3 separate regions of the Homo sapiens genome follow, and all the other regions are linked to region 2. The links are contacts of gene promoters, found by promoter capture Hi-C in blood cells and fetal thymus (Javierre and others, 2016). All regions are on one chromosome and are shown on one strand. The core of a region is centred on a gene start or on the middle of the fragment in contact, and the rest is flanking DNA. Distances in the headings are between cores, read along the strand shown. Region 1 overlaps C1orf159 (chromosome 1 open reading frame 159). Region 2 holds the start of UBE2J2 (ubiquitin conjugating enzyme E2 J2). Region 3 holds the start of LOC105378948 (a long non-coding RNA gene).

Region 1 (4,027 bases), core at 391-2,890, 170 kb before region 2:
GTTTAATTCATTAATATTTAATATAATTATCATTATGGGTAGATGTAGGTATGTTAATATTTAATATAATTACTGTTATGGGTAGATGTAGGTATGTTAATCGTTTTCTGATTGTCCCTTTGTATACACACGCTGCCCTTTATTTTTCAGTGATTTTAGGTTCATAGCAAAATTGAGCAGTTAAGTACAAGGAGTTGTGCCTCCCCGCTGTGCCCACCCAGGCACAGCCTTACCCTCAGCATCCCACTTGTTGCAGCTGACACACCGACAGTGACACATCACCACCACTCAAAGTCCATGGTTGACACGAGGGCGCACTCTTGGTGCTGCACGTTCTTGGTGCTGAGCTTTGGCAAGTGTATAATGACACTATCGTTGGATTTCAGGTCTACCGTTTTTACCGTTTATTATTTGTTTTCTGATTGTCCCTGTGTTTTTTGTTCCTCTATTCTCTTTCTGGCCCTCTTTTGCGTGATTTGAAGTTTTAAAAATTCCTTTCCAAGTTATCTTTTGGCCCTTTAGTTGTGCTTCTTTCCATTATTCTCATAGTTGTTGCTCTAGGAATTGCAATTTCAACCTTGCTTTTTCTAGTCTACTTAGAACTAGCATTATACCACTTTATGCAAAATGTAGACATGTAGACACCTTGCAACTGTACAGTCCACGGATCCCCTCTACTACTCTTCACGTTGTGGCTGTCATATCTGCATACATTATAAACCCAAGAGATGTTTTAATTTTTCCCCAGATATTTACTAATTTTGATGTTCATCATTCATTCTTAAAGATCTGAGTTTCACTGTAGTATATACTATCTTCAGCATTTCCGGTAGCACAATTTGATGGTGACAAATTTTATCAGTTTTCCTTTTTCTGAAAATATTTTCATGTAATGTTTATTCTTAGAGAATACAGAATTCTATGCTTTTTTTTTCTTTCAGCAGTTCCACTTTCTTCTGGTCTCCATAATTACTCACAAACTTGGTCGGGCGTGGCAGCTCACGCCTGTAATCCCAGCACTTTGGGAGGCCAAGTGGGTGGGTCACTTGAGGCCAGGAGTTTGATGCCACCCTGGCCAACATAGCAAAACCCCATCTCTACTAAAAATACAAAAATTAGCTCAGCATGGTAGCACACGCTTGTAGTCCCAGCTACTTGGGAGGCTGAGACACAAGAATCGCTTGAACCCAGGAGGCAGAGGTTGCAGTAAGCTGAGACTGTACCACTGCACTCCAGCCTTGGTAACAGAGCAAGACTGTATAAAAAAAAATTTTTTTTTAAATCTCACAGACTCAGTCTATCAGCTCATGGTCTATCAGCTCAGGGTCTGTCAGCTCATGGTCTATCGGCTCAGGGTCCATTGGCTCACATCTATCAATCAGCTCAGTCTATTGGCTCAGGGTCCGTCGGCTCATGGTCTATCAATCAGCTCACAGTCTGTCGGCTCACGGTCTATTGGCTCATGGTTTATCAGCTCAGTCTTCACAGTGCTGTGCTGTGTGTGATCTGTTGTTTTTCTCTGGCTGCTTTCAAGATTTTTAAAGTTAATCTTTAGTTTTTAATAGTTTTAGGGCTGGGTGTGGTGGCTTACACCTGTAATCCCAGCACTTTAGGAAGCTGAGGCAGGCAGATCCCCTGAGGTCAGGAGTTCGAGACTAGCCTGGCCAACATGGAGAAACCCCGTATCTACTAAAAATACAAAAATTAATCGGGCATGGTGGCACGGGCATATAGTCCCAGCTACATGGGAGGCTGAGGCAGGAGAATCGCTTGAACTGGGAGGTAGAGGTTGCAGTGAGCCGAGATCGCACCACTGCACTCCAGCCTGGGCGACAACAGCAAAACTCTGTCTCAAAAAAAAAAAAAAAAAAAAAAAAACAAACTTTTGAAGTGATGGGTCCAGGTGTGGTTTTATTCTCATTTATCCTGTTTGGGATTCTTAAAACTAAACATTTATGTCTTTCACCAAATTTGAAAGTTTCTGGTTACTGTTTCTTCAAGTACTTCTGTCCACTGTGCCTCTCCTCTCCTGGACCTCTGTAATTACCCATGTGTTAGACATGTTGATATCACCTAAGGTCCCTGAGGCTTAGATATCACCTACAGGTCCCAGAGGCTCTGTTCATGGTTTTGTTTTATTTTCCTCCAATCACTTCCACCCTTTTTTTTTTTTCCAGCTTGGATGATTTCTATTCCTCTGTCTTTGAGGACTCTGCCTATTTTCTCTGTTATTTCCCTTCTGTTATGTTCATTCAGTGAATTTTAAAATTTCAGATCTTGGCCAAGCACAGTGGCTCACGCCTGTAATCCCAGCACCTTGAGAGGCTGAGGTAGGTGGATCACCTGAGGTCAGTTCAAGACAAGCCTGGCCAACATAGCGAAACCCTGTCTCTACTAAAAAAAAAAAAAAAAAAAAAAAAAAAAAAAAAAATTGCCAGGCGTAGTGGTGGGCACCTGTAGTCCCAGCTACTCAGGAGGCTGAGGCAGGAGAATCACTTGAACCTGGGAGGCAGAAGTTGCAGTGAGACGAGATCGTGCCACTGAACTCCAGCCTGGGTGACAGAGTAGAACTGTCTCAAAAATAAATAAATAAAATAAAATTTCAGATCTTGTTTTTTTTTGAGACAAGAGTTTCACTCTTGTCCCCCAGCCCCAGGCTGGAGTGCAGTGGCATGATCTGGGCTCACTGCAGCCTCTGCCTCCTGGGCTCAAGTGATTCTTTGCCTCAGCCTCCCGAGTAGCTGGGATTACAGGCGACCACCACCAAGCCCTGCTAAATTTTTGTTGTTGCTGTTTGTATTTTTAGTAGAGACGGGGTTTCACCATGTTGGTCAGGCTTGTCTTGAACTCCTGACCGCAGGTGATCCACCTACCTCAGCCTCCCAAAGTGCTGGGATTACAGGCGTGAGCCACCACGCCCAGCCAGATCTTGTGTTTGTTTGACCTAAAATTCCCATTTGGCTCATTTAAACATGTTTCCTCGCTGAGATTTCCGGCACTTTGTTCATTATGCGTGCATTTCCCTTTTCTTCACTGAGCACAGACACTAAACCTGCTCCAAAGTGCTTTTTTGACTATTCCAACAGCTAGGTCATAACACAATTGATATCTGTTGTCTTTCCCTTCGAGAATGGCTCACATTTTCCTGGCTCTTCATATGTTGAGTGATTTTGAACTGTACCCTGTACATTGCAAACGTTACATTGTGAAGACACTGGAATTCTGTGATATTCCTCTGAAGAGAATCAATGTTTCTACTTAGCAGGCAATTAATTTCATTAGATTCAAACTGCAAACGCTGTCACACCTGCGGTGAGCGGTGGCTCAGGTCACTGCATGGCACAGGGTGCACGCAGGGGTCAGGGGTCTGCCAGAAACGAGCGGCATCTATACACAGGACTCCTCCCCTCTGGCTCTTTCTGGGGCTTCTACTCTCTTTTTCGAGGAGCTATGGGTGCCTAGCTCCTTCCCCTGCCTGCTCCTGGAACAAGGAAGATAGCGTACTTTCTTTTTTGCTTGTTTGTTTTCTGGAGACACATTCTCCCTCTGTCGCCCAGGCAGAAATGCAGTGGCAGCGATCCTCTCACCCCGGCCTCCTGAATAGTTGGGACCTCAGGTGCACACCATTACACCCAGGTAACGTCCTTTTCTTTTGTAGAGACTGTGTTGTCCAGGCTGGTCTCAAATGCCTGGCCTCAAGCAATTCTCCGTCTCAGCCTCCCAAAATCCTGGGATTACAGGAGTGAGCTGCCCTGCCAGATAGTAGAATTTTTACTTTTTTTTTTCTGAGACAGAGTCTCGCTCTGTCACCCAGGCTGGAGTGCAGTGGCGCAATCTCAGCTCGCTGAAGCCTCTGCCTCCCAGGCTCACGCGATTCTCCTGCCTCGGCCTCACGAGTAGCTGGGATTACAGGCACCTGCCACCACACCTGGCTAATTTTTTGTATTTTTAGTAGAGACGGGGTTTCAGCATGTTGGCCAGGCTGGTCTCAAACTCCTGACCTCGTGATCCACCTGCCTCTGCCTCC
Region 2 (4,017 bases), core at 111-2,610:
CACCCAGGTCCAGGACTGCCAGGGAAGTCTCTGCCTTCTCCACCAGACTGCTCCGGAGGCTGGACGGAAGCCCGGGCCGATGGAAATGGGACACTCACCTGCGACTCACACATGCACCTGCCTGGGTCACCTGCCTGTCACTCATCCACGCACCTACCTGCCTGGCTCACCTGCCTGTCACTCAAGCACTCACCTACCTGCCTGGCTCACCTGCCTGTCACTCACGCACATCCCTGCCGAGAGTGGAACTGCTAAGGAGGTCAGCGGTGCCAGGCCGTGCAGATGACGGACTGCAAGTTCCGGGCACCCAGACCCAACCACGCCCTAGGCTCAGGTGCTAGACTAAGCGAGATACTCACGATCCTTTCTTCGGAAGCCAGATTACACAGTCTGGTTCCCCTGGAGCAGGGCGCGGGGCCACCGACCTGCCCCAGCCAAGCCCGCTGTACACTCTTCGCTGCCCACCTCCCACCGGGCTGAGGCCCGACCTTTCAGCCGCTTCCTATCTGGGTCTGGCAAGAGGATGGCAACCGGACTAGAGTTAAATACACACGCACTAAGTGGCAGGCACTGAAAAGGACGCCAGGAGGTGACACCTGGCCAGGGGCTGAAAGGATGCAGGGAACTGGCAGGTGTGGATGGCGAGGCCCGGCGCCGCTTAGAGACTTGTTCCGGGCTCGTGTCTCACTCGCCGGCCGGCGGTGGTCTCCCACTGTCACCGCCCGGGTTTCCCAGAAACGCTGGCCCTAAGCACAGTCCCGGGCACGCTCGTTTCTCTCGGGGTTTACGGGGCAGTCTGGAGTCTAACAGTTCAGGGGCGAGGCGACGGCGGGCTCGACGGCAGCCCTCCCCCGACACAGACTCCCGTGATCCACTGACGAACCAGGATCGAGGCTGCCCGTCCTGGGGCAGCTGCAAGTGTCCCAGCTGACGGGAAACCCGGCCGAGTGGTCAAGTCCCCGACATGACCCTGACCCGGAGCTCCGGGAGCCCGCCGTAACCGACCTCGGGTTCCGCGCAGGCAGGCTCGGGCCGGGGCCCCGCGGGCGGCGGGCGCGAACGGAGAAGCGTCGCGCAGGGTCCCCAGCAGCCCCGGGCCGCCGCTGTGGCCGGCTCCGGCAGGGGGGACGAGCGGGCCCGAGGACCCGGCGCAGGCCTGCGAGCGCGCTCACCTCTCCCTGTCGCTGCGCGTGGGCCGCCGCCGCGCTCAGGCTCGCCGTAGTCGAGGCCGGAGCAGGGTGCGGAAAAGCGGGGCCCGCGCCCGAAACAGCCGCACCGCCCCGGGATTGGGCCCACCGAACCCGCCGCAGCGCCGCCGCCGCCGCCTCAGCCTCCAAGATGGCCGCTCGCGGGGCGGAACCAGCCTAGCTTCTGCTTCCGGTGCGCGGTCCGGGGCGGTGAGGAGGGAGGGGGAGGGCTGGCCGCTCTAGGCAGACTGGCGGACCGCGCCCACGACTCTCTGTCGCCGTCGACCCCGGGGTGGGGGATGGGGCGGGGGGCGGGGCGGCGCTTGCGCACTGGCGGGCGGCTCCGGGCACCGTTAGTGGGCGCGAGAGCCCCAGACCCCGAAGCCGCGCGCTTCCCTCCCCATGTGCCACGGCCCAGGGCGGCAGGCCCGGCTGAGGGCGACCCCGGTGGAGAAAGAACCCCGACCCTCCCGCCTCCCGGCTCCCGCCTTGTCCTCCGCTCCCACGCCCCACCCGGCCCTTAGGGGAGGCGCGGCGCGGCCCGGGCATGGAGCGTCCCGGGCCCCTGGAGGCTCAGTGGAGGGTTGGGCTCCAGGGAGCTCAGAGCTCTCTCGTTCAGGGACCCGAGAGTGACACGCGTGGCATCTCTTTGCAACCCACGTCCGCGCCGCAGCACCCTCCCCTGCAGGTGCCTGCCCAGCCCCGGGATGCCCCTGACCTCCCCTTGGACAGACTGCAGAAAGCGCGGGGCGCTGCGTCCTCTCCACCTCTCTCTGACCCCAGACACATTGGGAGAGAGCGGTAGGTGGCGGGGCGCTGGGGTGGGACGCTGGGGGCAGGCGCGCAGCCCACCGCCTCCCTGAGAGGCCGCTGAGGACAGCGGGGAGCTGAGGGTGGTCCCCTGGTGGGGGATCAGGAGGTGGACCTCGCCACCTGGCTGCCTGTGGCCCTCTCCTTTGCCCCAACCCTGACTGCCTCTCAGGAACAACCACAGGTCAGCAAGGTGGCTGAATATTGAGGGTCAGTCCCGCTGTGGCTACGGGCAGAGGGCAGGCTGTGTCCATGCTCAGCCCTGACTCTGGCCCTCTGGGACACCTTGGTGGGTCTGAGACGTTGCTGCAGGCCGTGGGGCAGAAGCCAGGAGGAGTGTCCACGCAGCCTCAGCCCGTGGGAATCCAGCCTGCCTCCATTACTGCCGTCACCGGCTCCACCTTCGGAGAACATCTCAGCATCCAGCCTCCTTCCTCTGCCTCCTCTCAGGCCTCTGCCGTTCCCATGCAGGGCAGGCCAAACTGTTTTCACAGCATGGAAAGTTATGTGAGGGAAGCCACACCGGCCGCAGATACAGGCACCAGCACATCCACTCGCATGCACACTCACGGCTGTGGCCCGCGGCAGATGGAGGCCCGCTCTGCCTTGTCTGTCCCTCAGTAGTGTGCGATGACAGCACACCTGTGGGGGCCCTGCAGCTGGGAAGACTGCAGCGAGGCTCAACTCAGAGGCCCCTGCTCAGGAGCATGGCTGAGTCACACCCCAGGGAGAAGGTGCCCCGGACAGGTGTGGCCAGCACGTCTTGCCAAGACCCCACCACCCCACCCACCCGCATCTGTGGCCTTCTGGTAAGCAGGACACAGGCTGCCCAGGCCTCTAGCCATAGAGCCGATGGCCTTGGCCAGTGGGATCGGCACAAGCAGCTAGGTTGGTGGCAGATGGTGGCTGTAACCTTCTCAACCCTGAGATTGCCCTCTGAGGGCAGGAGCAGCCCTTCTGCTGTGGGCCAGCCCTCCGGAGGGACTTCCTCTGGCAGCTTCAGGAATAGGACAACAGGGACCACCCTCAGCATCTTGAGCAGCGGGGGGCACCCTCTGCTTTGGCAACCAAGAAAACATCCCCCAACCCAGTTACCACCTCCTGCCCCCACCTCCTCCAGCCCCCAGGGTTGGACCAGAAAGCCTTGGCTGCCTCTGAACAGCAGGGATTGTCTGGCCAGGGGATGCTTGAGGGACAGAGAACCCAGCCTGGAGGGTGCAAACTGAGGAAGGTCTCAGTCCCTTTAGAAAGTTTGTTTTGCCAAGGTTAAGGACACACCCATGACATCTCGGGAGGTGCCCAAGGTGCATGTGGCACAGCTCGCTTTTATACATTTTAGGGAGACATGATTTATTTACACGGGTTCAATCTGAAAGAGCAGGATAAATTGGGGTGGTGTGGGGAGACCTCTATGTTATAGGCAGATTCAAAATGATCCTGACCGACAGTGGTTGAAAGAGTTATTATCAATAGAAAGGAATGTCTGGGTTGCAGTAAGGGGTTGTGGTTTTCCACGCAGCTGAAGCCTCGGGTTGCCGGCTTCAGAGAGAATAGATTGTTAATGTTTCCTATCAGACTTAAGGCCTGTGTTGATGTTAATGCTAGTCAGCTTTTCCTGAATTTCAAAAGGGAGGAGGCATGACCCACGACCCCTTCCCGCCATGGCCTGAACAAGTTCCCAGGTTAACACTGGAACGCCCTTGGCTGAGAGGAAGGGTCCATTTGGACGGCTGGGGGGGCCTTAGAATTTAATTTTTGGTTTACATTCACCCCCTTCTGGCCAAGATTTGCCAGAGGCAACATCCATGTCCACCAAATCTTTATTGTGTCTCAGCGTTGCTGGGCGAGTGTGGCTGCCCACCCTCAGTCAATCCTGTCCCTCAGTTTGACTCCCTATGACCCAGGGACTTACAGTTAAAAGATTTACAGCCCATTAAATTTTGTAGGCCAGATAGGAATGGACATGGACCAGCATTCATTACCTCTTAAAACAATTTTTTTTTTTAAAGTTGGAGTCTCA
Region 3 (4,601 bases), core at 930-3,429, 210 kb before region 2:
TCAAGGCCACGAGGATCAGTGCTCGGAGCCTGGAGGGCTGTGTGCAGGAGTAGCAGGGCCACTGATGCCAGCGGGAAGGCCAGGCAGGGCTTCTGGGTGGAGTTCAAGGTGCATCCTGACCGCTGTCACCTTCAGACTCTGTCCCCTGGGGCTGGGGCAAGTGCCCGATGGGAGCGCAGGGTCTGGGACTGTAGGGTCCAGCCCTACGGAGCTTAGCAGGTGTTCTCCCCGTGTGTGGAGATGAGAGATTGTAATAAATAAAGACACAAGACAAAGAGATAAAGAGAAAACAGCTGGGCCCCGGGGACCACTACCACAAAGACACGGAGACCGGTAGTGGCCCTGAACGGCTGGGCTCGCTGATATTTATTGCATACAAGACAAGGGGGCAGGATAAGGAGGGTCAGTCTTCTAAGTGATTGACAAGGTGAAGCAAGTCACGTGATCACAGGACAGCGGGCCCTTCCCTCTTAGGTAGCTGAAGCAGAGAGAGAAGGCGGCAGGCATCAGCGTTTTCTTCTATGAACTTATAAGATCAAAGACTTTAAGACTTTCACTATTTCTTCTACCGCTATCTACTACGAACTTCAAAGAGGAACCAGGAGTACGGAAGGAGCATGAAAGTGGACAAGGAACGTGACCATTGAAGCACCACAGGGAGGGGTTCAGGCCTCCGGATGACTGCAGGCAGGCCTGGGTAACATCCAGCCTCCCACAAGAAGCTGGTGGAGCAGAGCGTTCCCTGACTCCTCCAAGGAAAGGAGACTCCCTTTCCCGGTCTGCTCAGTAACGGGTGCCTTCCCAGACACTGGCGTTACCGCTTGACCAAGGGGCCCTCAAGCGGCCCTTATGCGGGCATGACAGAAGGCTCCCCTCTTGCCTTCTATTCACTTCTCACAATGTCCCTTCAGCACCTGACCCTATACCTGCCGGTTATTCCTAGGTTATATTATTAATGCAACAGAGTAATATTAAAAGCTAATGATTAATAATGTTTATAATAATGATGGATAATTGTTCATGATCATCGCTGTATCTAATTTGTATTATGACTATTCTTATTCTATTTTCTTTATTATACTGAAACAGTTTGTGCCTTCAGTCTCTTGCCTCGGCACCTAGGTACTCTTCCGCCCACACGGGACGGGCTGGGGGTGGCCATCTCGGGCTCTGGGAAGGGGCCGGGGCTGTGAGCTGAAGGCTCCATCACCTCCAGATGCTGCAGCAGCAGGAATGCCGGTTCCTGTACCCTCGGAAGGAGGGGCAGAGTGTGGAGAACAAGCCCAAGAATCACTACAAGAACATCCTTCCCTGTGAGGGCGGAGGCCAGGGCGTCACCCGTCGGGCCTGGGGGAGGTGGGGGGCAGGCCGAGCATCTGCCACCGCTGACCTGAGGCTCCCCCTTGCATACCCTGGACCCTCCATCTCTGCTCACCACAGGGTCTGCGGGCAAAGAGGCAGGGTGAGGCCCACGAGCTGTGCCCTGGAGAACTGAGCGGCACCTCCCTTCCCAGTTGATGCTACCCTTGAGTCATCCTGCTCAACGAGGATGACAGCGGGCCCGGAGCCGACTACATCAGGGTGGGTGTGTGCGGGAGGCGGGGCCTGGGCCCATTGCTCCTGGGGGGCTCAGGAAGAACCAGGGTCCCCAAGGGAGGGGTGGGCGGCAGTCTCCAAGGGGTCCTCAGAGAGGCTGGACGGGCATTGGTCCTCAGCCCCTTGCTGGCCTGGAGTGAGGAGTGTGTTTAAGCCACCAGGGCTCTTTGCATAATATTTGTGTGTCGTTTGCATATCATTTGCATAGCATTTGCATGGACTTGTTTGTCCTCTGTTAACAGCAGCAGTTGGCCTCATTCCCTTTCAGACTGACCCTGAGGAGGAGCCGGGCCATGGCAGGGGCAGGGTGGACATCCCTTGTGGCCCTGCCCCGCCGCACCTGCACCTGCACAGCCCGCGTGGGCCCGCCCCGCCGCAGCTGAAGTGCACCACCATGGGCCCGGCCCGCGGCTCGCGGCTCGCGGCTCTGGGCCCGGTTCACCTCGTCCCGGAAGCCGAGGACGCCGGCGGGATCGGTCCGGACGCCGTAGTCCGGCCAGCCGAAGTACTGGAAGTGCTGCACCGTACGCTGTGGCTCCTCCCCGCGGGGCAGGGCCTCGCGGGCGCAGGGTGTACATCGCCTGCAGGGCTGTCTGCAGGCCTGTCTGCAGGCCACGGTGGCTGCTTTCTGGGCCACGGTGCACCAGGAGAACACGCGTGTCATCGTCATGACCACCAGGGAGATGGAGCGGGGCCGGGTAGGGGTGCGGTGCCAGTGCTCCCAGTGCCCATCCCACCCCGTGCATCTTCGGCTGCCCAAGGCCCTTCCCGACCAGGCCAAGGAGGCTGTGGGACGCCGTGGGAGTGGGGAGGCTCCCACAGAGCCCCGTGGCTGCACGTACACACCTGCGTCTCTGCAGGTCGCAGGGGCGGGGTGCCGAGGTGCTGCCAGCAAGGCTGATGCAAAGCGCTCCCCTCGGAACAAGTGTTTCCGGGACTGGCCAGAGCTGCCCGGCAGCCAAGAGTTCGGCCGTGTGCACATGCGCGTCCTCGGCAAGGGCCAGGCCCAGGGCTACTGCGTGCGGGAGCTGCAGGTGTGGCGGCCGGGCCAGGTGAGCCTGGCGGCTGTGGAGCGTGCCTGCTGTCGGCCTGCACTGGGAGACCCCACACCTGCCTGCATCCAACCCCACTGCCTTTGGGGGCTTCCACACCCCTCAACCCAGGAGGTGCATTCCAAGCCTGGACAGGGGTCACTGACGTGGCCACATTCTCAGCCCTGGGCTGGCGGCCGCTCCTCCCACACACCTCTCCAACTGCAGCTTTGGTCTCCGTTGTATACCAGAGACGCCCATTTCTGCTCCGGGCAGATTACCTCGTGTTCCCTCCAGCCCCCGCCCAGTGTGTGTGGGGGGGTCCTCCAGGACCCCATGGACCCCTCACATTTGGTTTTTCCTTATAAAATAACTGTCCTCACAGCCTGCTTCGCCCGCCCCCAGCTCCCTCTTCCCTTCCCCAGGCACCTGAGCCACCTGGGGCCATCTCGGCGCCCCCTCCCCATTTCCTTCCTCCTCCTCCTGCTCGCCTTGGCTCCCGCAGCCCCTCCGCTTGGGCACTCCCGGAAACCCAGCTGTGCCTCAGCCTCCTCCTCCCACCCTGGGGTCACACTCACCGCTTGCCCCGCTCAGGAGGAGCCACAGCGTACGGTGCAGCACTTCCAGTACTTCGGCTGGCCGGACTACGGCGTCCGGGCCGATCCCGCCGGCGTCCTCGGCTTCCGGGACGAGGTGAACCGGGCCCAGAGCAGCAAGCCGCGGGCCGGGCCCATGGTGGTGCACTTCAGCTGCGGCGGGGCGGGCCCACGCGGGCTGTGCAGATGCAGGTGCGGCGGGGCGGGGCCACGCGGGCTGTGCAGGTGCAGGTGCGGCGGGGCGGGGCCACGCGGGACGACGAGGGCGGAGCCATCGGGTGGGCGGGGGCGCCCCCGCCCCCGCCCCCCACTCTCGTCAAAGGCCGCCTAGTTTGTCCTCAGTGGGGGCATCGGATGCACGGGCACCATCATCGTGATTGACATCCTGGTGGACGTCATCCGCAGGCAGGGCGAGCCGCTCCACTCTGGGTCCCCCCGCCCTGCCCTGCTATAGCCCCACCCCTCCGGGCGACCCCACCCCTCCGGACGACCCCACCCCTCAGGACGACCCCACCCCTCAGGACGACCCCACCGCTACCGGCAAGCCCCGCCCCTCATCAGCAGCCCCGCCCCTGCCTGCCGGCACCTTCCCCCCATCCGTAGCCCCTCCCCAAGCGCGCTTGTCCGCAGGGCTGGACTGCGACACCGACGTCCCGAAGACGATCCAGCTGGTTTGGCGGCAGCACTGGGGAATGGTGCAGACGGAGGCTCCGTACAAGTTCACGTACCTGGCGCTGCAGCGGCACATCCGGGGCGAGTAACTGCGCCTGCGCGAGCAGGTGGGGGCGTGGCCCTGCGGGGCGTGGCCTGTGCGGGCGTCGCCATGGTGACCGGCGGCCCCTCCCCCCAGCGCGAGCCGCCTCAGGAGCGCGAGAACCAAAACGTGGGCGCCGCCCCCCGCTAATCGGGTTGCAGCCCCCGGCTCCCCGGGCATCCCCGGTGTGAGTGGAGCGCCGGGGCCGGTCCGGAGTCCTCTGGGAGGGACTGGGACGTGCGGGGTGCAGGGCTGAGCCGCTGCTCCGCGCGCAGAACCCCGCAGCCCTGGGACGGCGAGGACGCGAACCTGCGGAGCCGCGGGTGTCTGAGGAGCCGCAGGGAACCCCCGGCCTAGCCGCGCCCGCGTGTGGCCGGAGCTGCGGGCCGGGACTGTGTCCAGGACAGAGCCACAAGCTTGTCCCCAGCTCAGGGAGGTCCAGGGGCGGCAGAGGGAGCGACAGGCTGCGAAGCCCACCGGTGACCACGTGTGAACCCGCGTGCGCCCCCAGCTCGGCCACTCCGTGCGGGTCTGCCCTCACCGCAGCTCCGGCCTGCCGGCCCTGCCTGCTCCCGTGGTCTGGGATGTGGCCCCGGTGAGGACCCGGCCCCATCAGGCACAGGG

What was found. The method cuts DNA at HindIII sites, captures the fragments that hold promoters and counts their contacts. A CHiCAGO score of 5 or more calls a contact.
Region 1: a contact is called between a fragment that was not itself captured here and the fragment with the promoter of UBE2J2 in region 2, in 13 of 17 cell types (naive CD4 T cells, naive CD8 T cells, activated CD4 T cells and 10 more). The highest score is 11.3, in naive CD4 T cells.
Region 3: a contact is called between a fragment that was not itself captured here and the fragment with the promoter of UBE2J2 in region 2, in 15 of 17 cell types (naive B cells, activated CD4 T cells, endothelial precursors and 12 more). The highest score is 10.9, in naive B cells.

What each region holds. Positions count from the first base shown.
Region 1 is chr1:1,100,219-1,104,245 of GRCh38, forward strand. The region is part of intron 1 of C1orf159 (chromosome 1 open reading frame 159); the gene reads right to left. Among named protein-coding and RNA genes, the nearest start is that of C1orf159, 14 kb to the right of the region's middle. The HindIII fragment of the contact is 5,940 bases long and covers 1-4,027 here.
Region 2 is chr1:1,272,494-1,276,510 of GRCh38, forward strand. It overlaps UBE2J2 (ubiquitin conjugating enzyme E2 J2), which reads right to left and starts at 1,361. Exons shown (of 7, transcript NM_058167.3): 1 at 1,173-1,361. LINC01786 (long intergenic non-protein coding RNA 1786) reads left to right here and starts at 1,509. Exons shown (of 3, transcript NR_185846.1): 1 at 1,509-1,988; 2 at 2,310-2,806. RefSeq lists enhancers at 1, 2-508, 509-1,016, 2,207-2,845 and silencers at 1,206-1,785, 1,946-1,995. The HindIII fragment of the contact is 5,565 bases long and covers 1-4,017 here.
Region 3 is chr1:1,065,356-1,069,956 of GRCh38, forward strand. It overlaps LOC100288175 (a long non-coding RNA gene), which reads left to right. Exons shown (of 4, transcript NR_148960.1): 4 at 475-1,098. It overlaps LOC105378948 (a long non-coding RNA gene), which reads right to left and starts at 3,982. Exons shown (of 5, transcript NR_168433.1): 1 at 3,206-3,982; 2 at 2,443-2,685; 3 at 1,391-1,443; 4 at 1,111-1,243; 5 at 280-478. RefSeq lists enhancers at 1-121, 122-622, 3,857-3,971, 3,943-4,601 and silencers at 3,359-3,548, 3,709-3,778, 3,899-4,298. The HindIII fragment of the contact is 4,423 bases long and covers 1-4,391 here.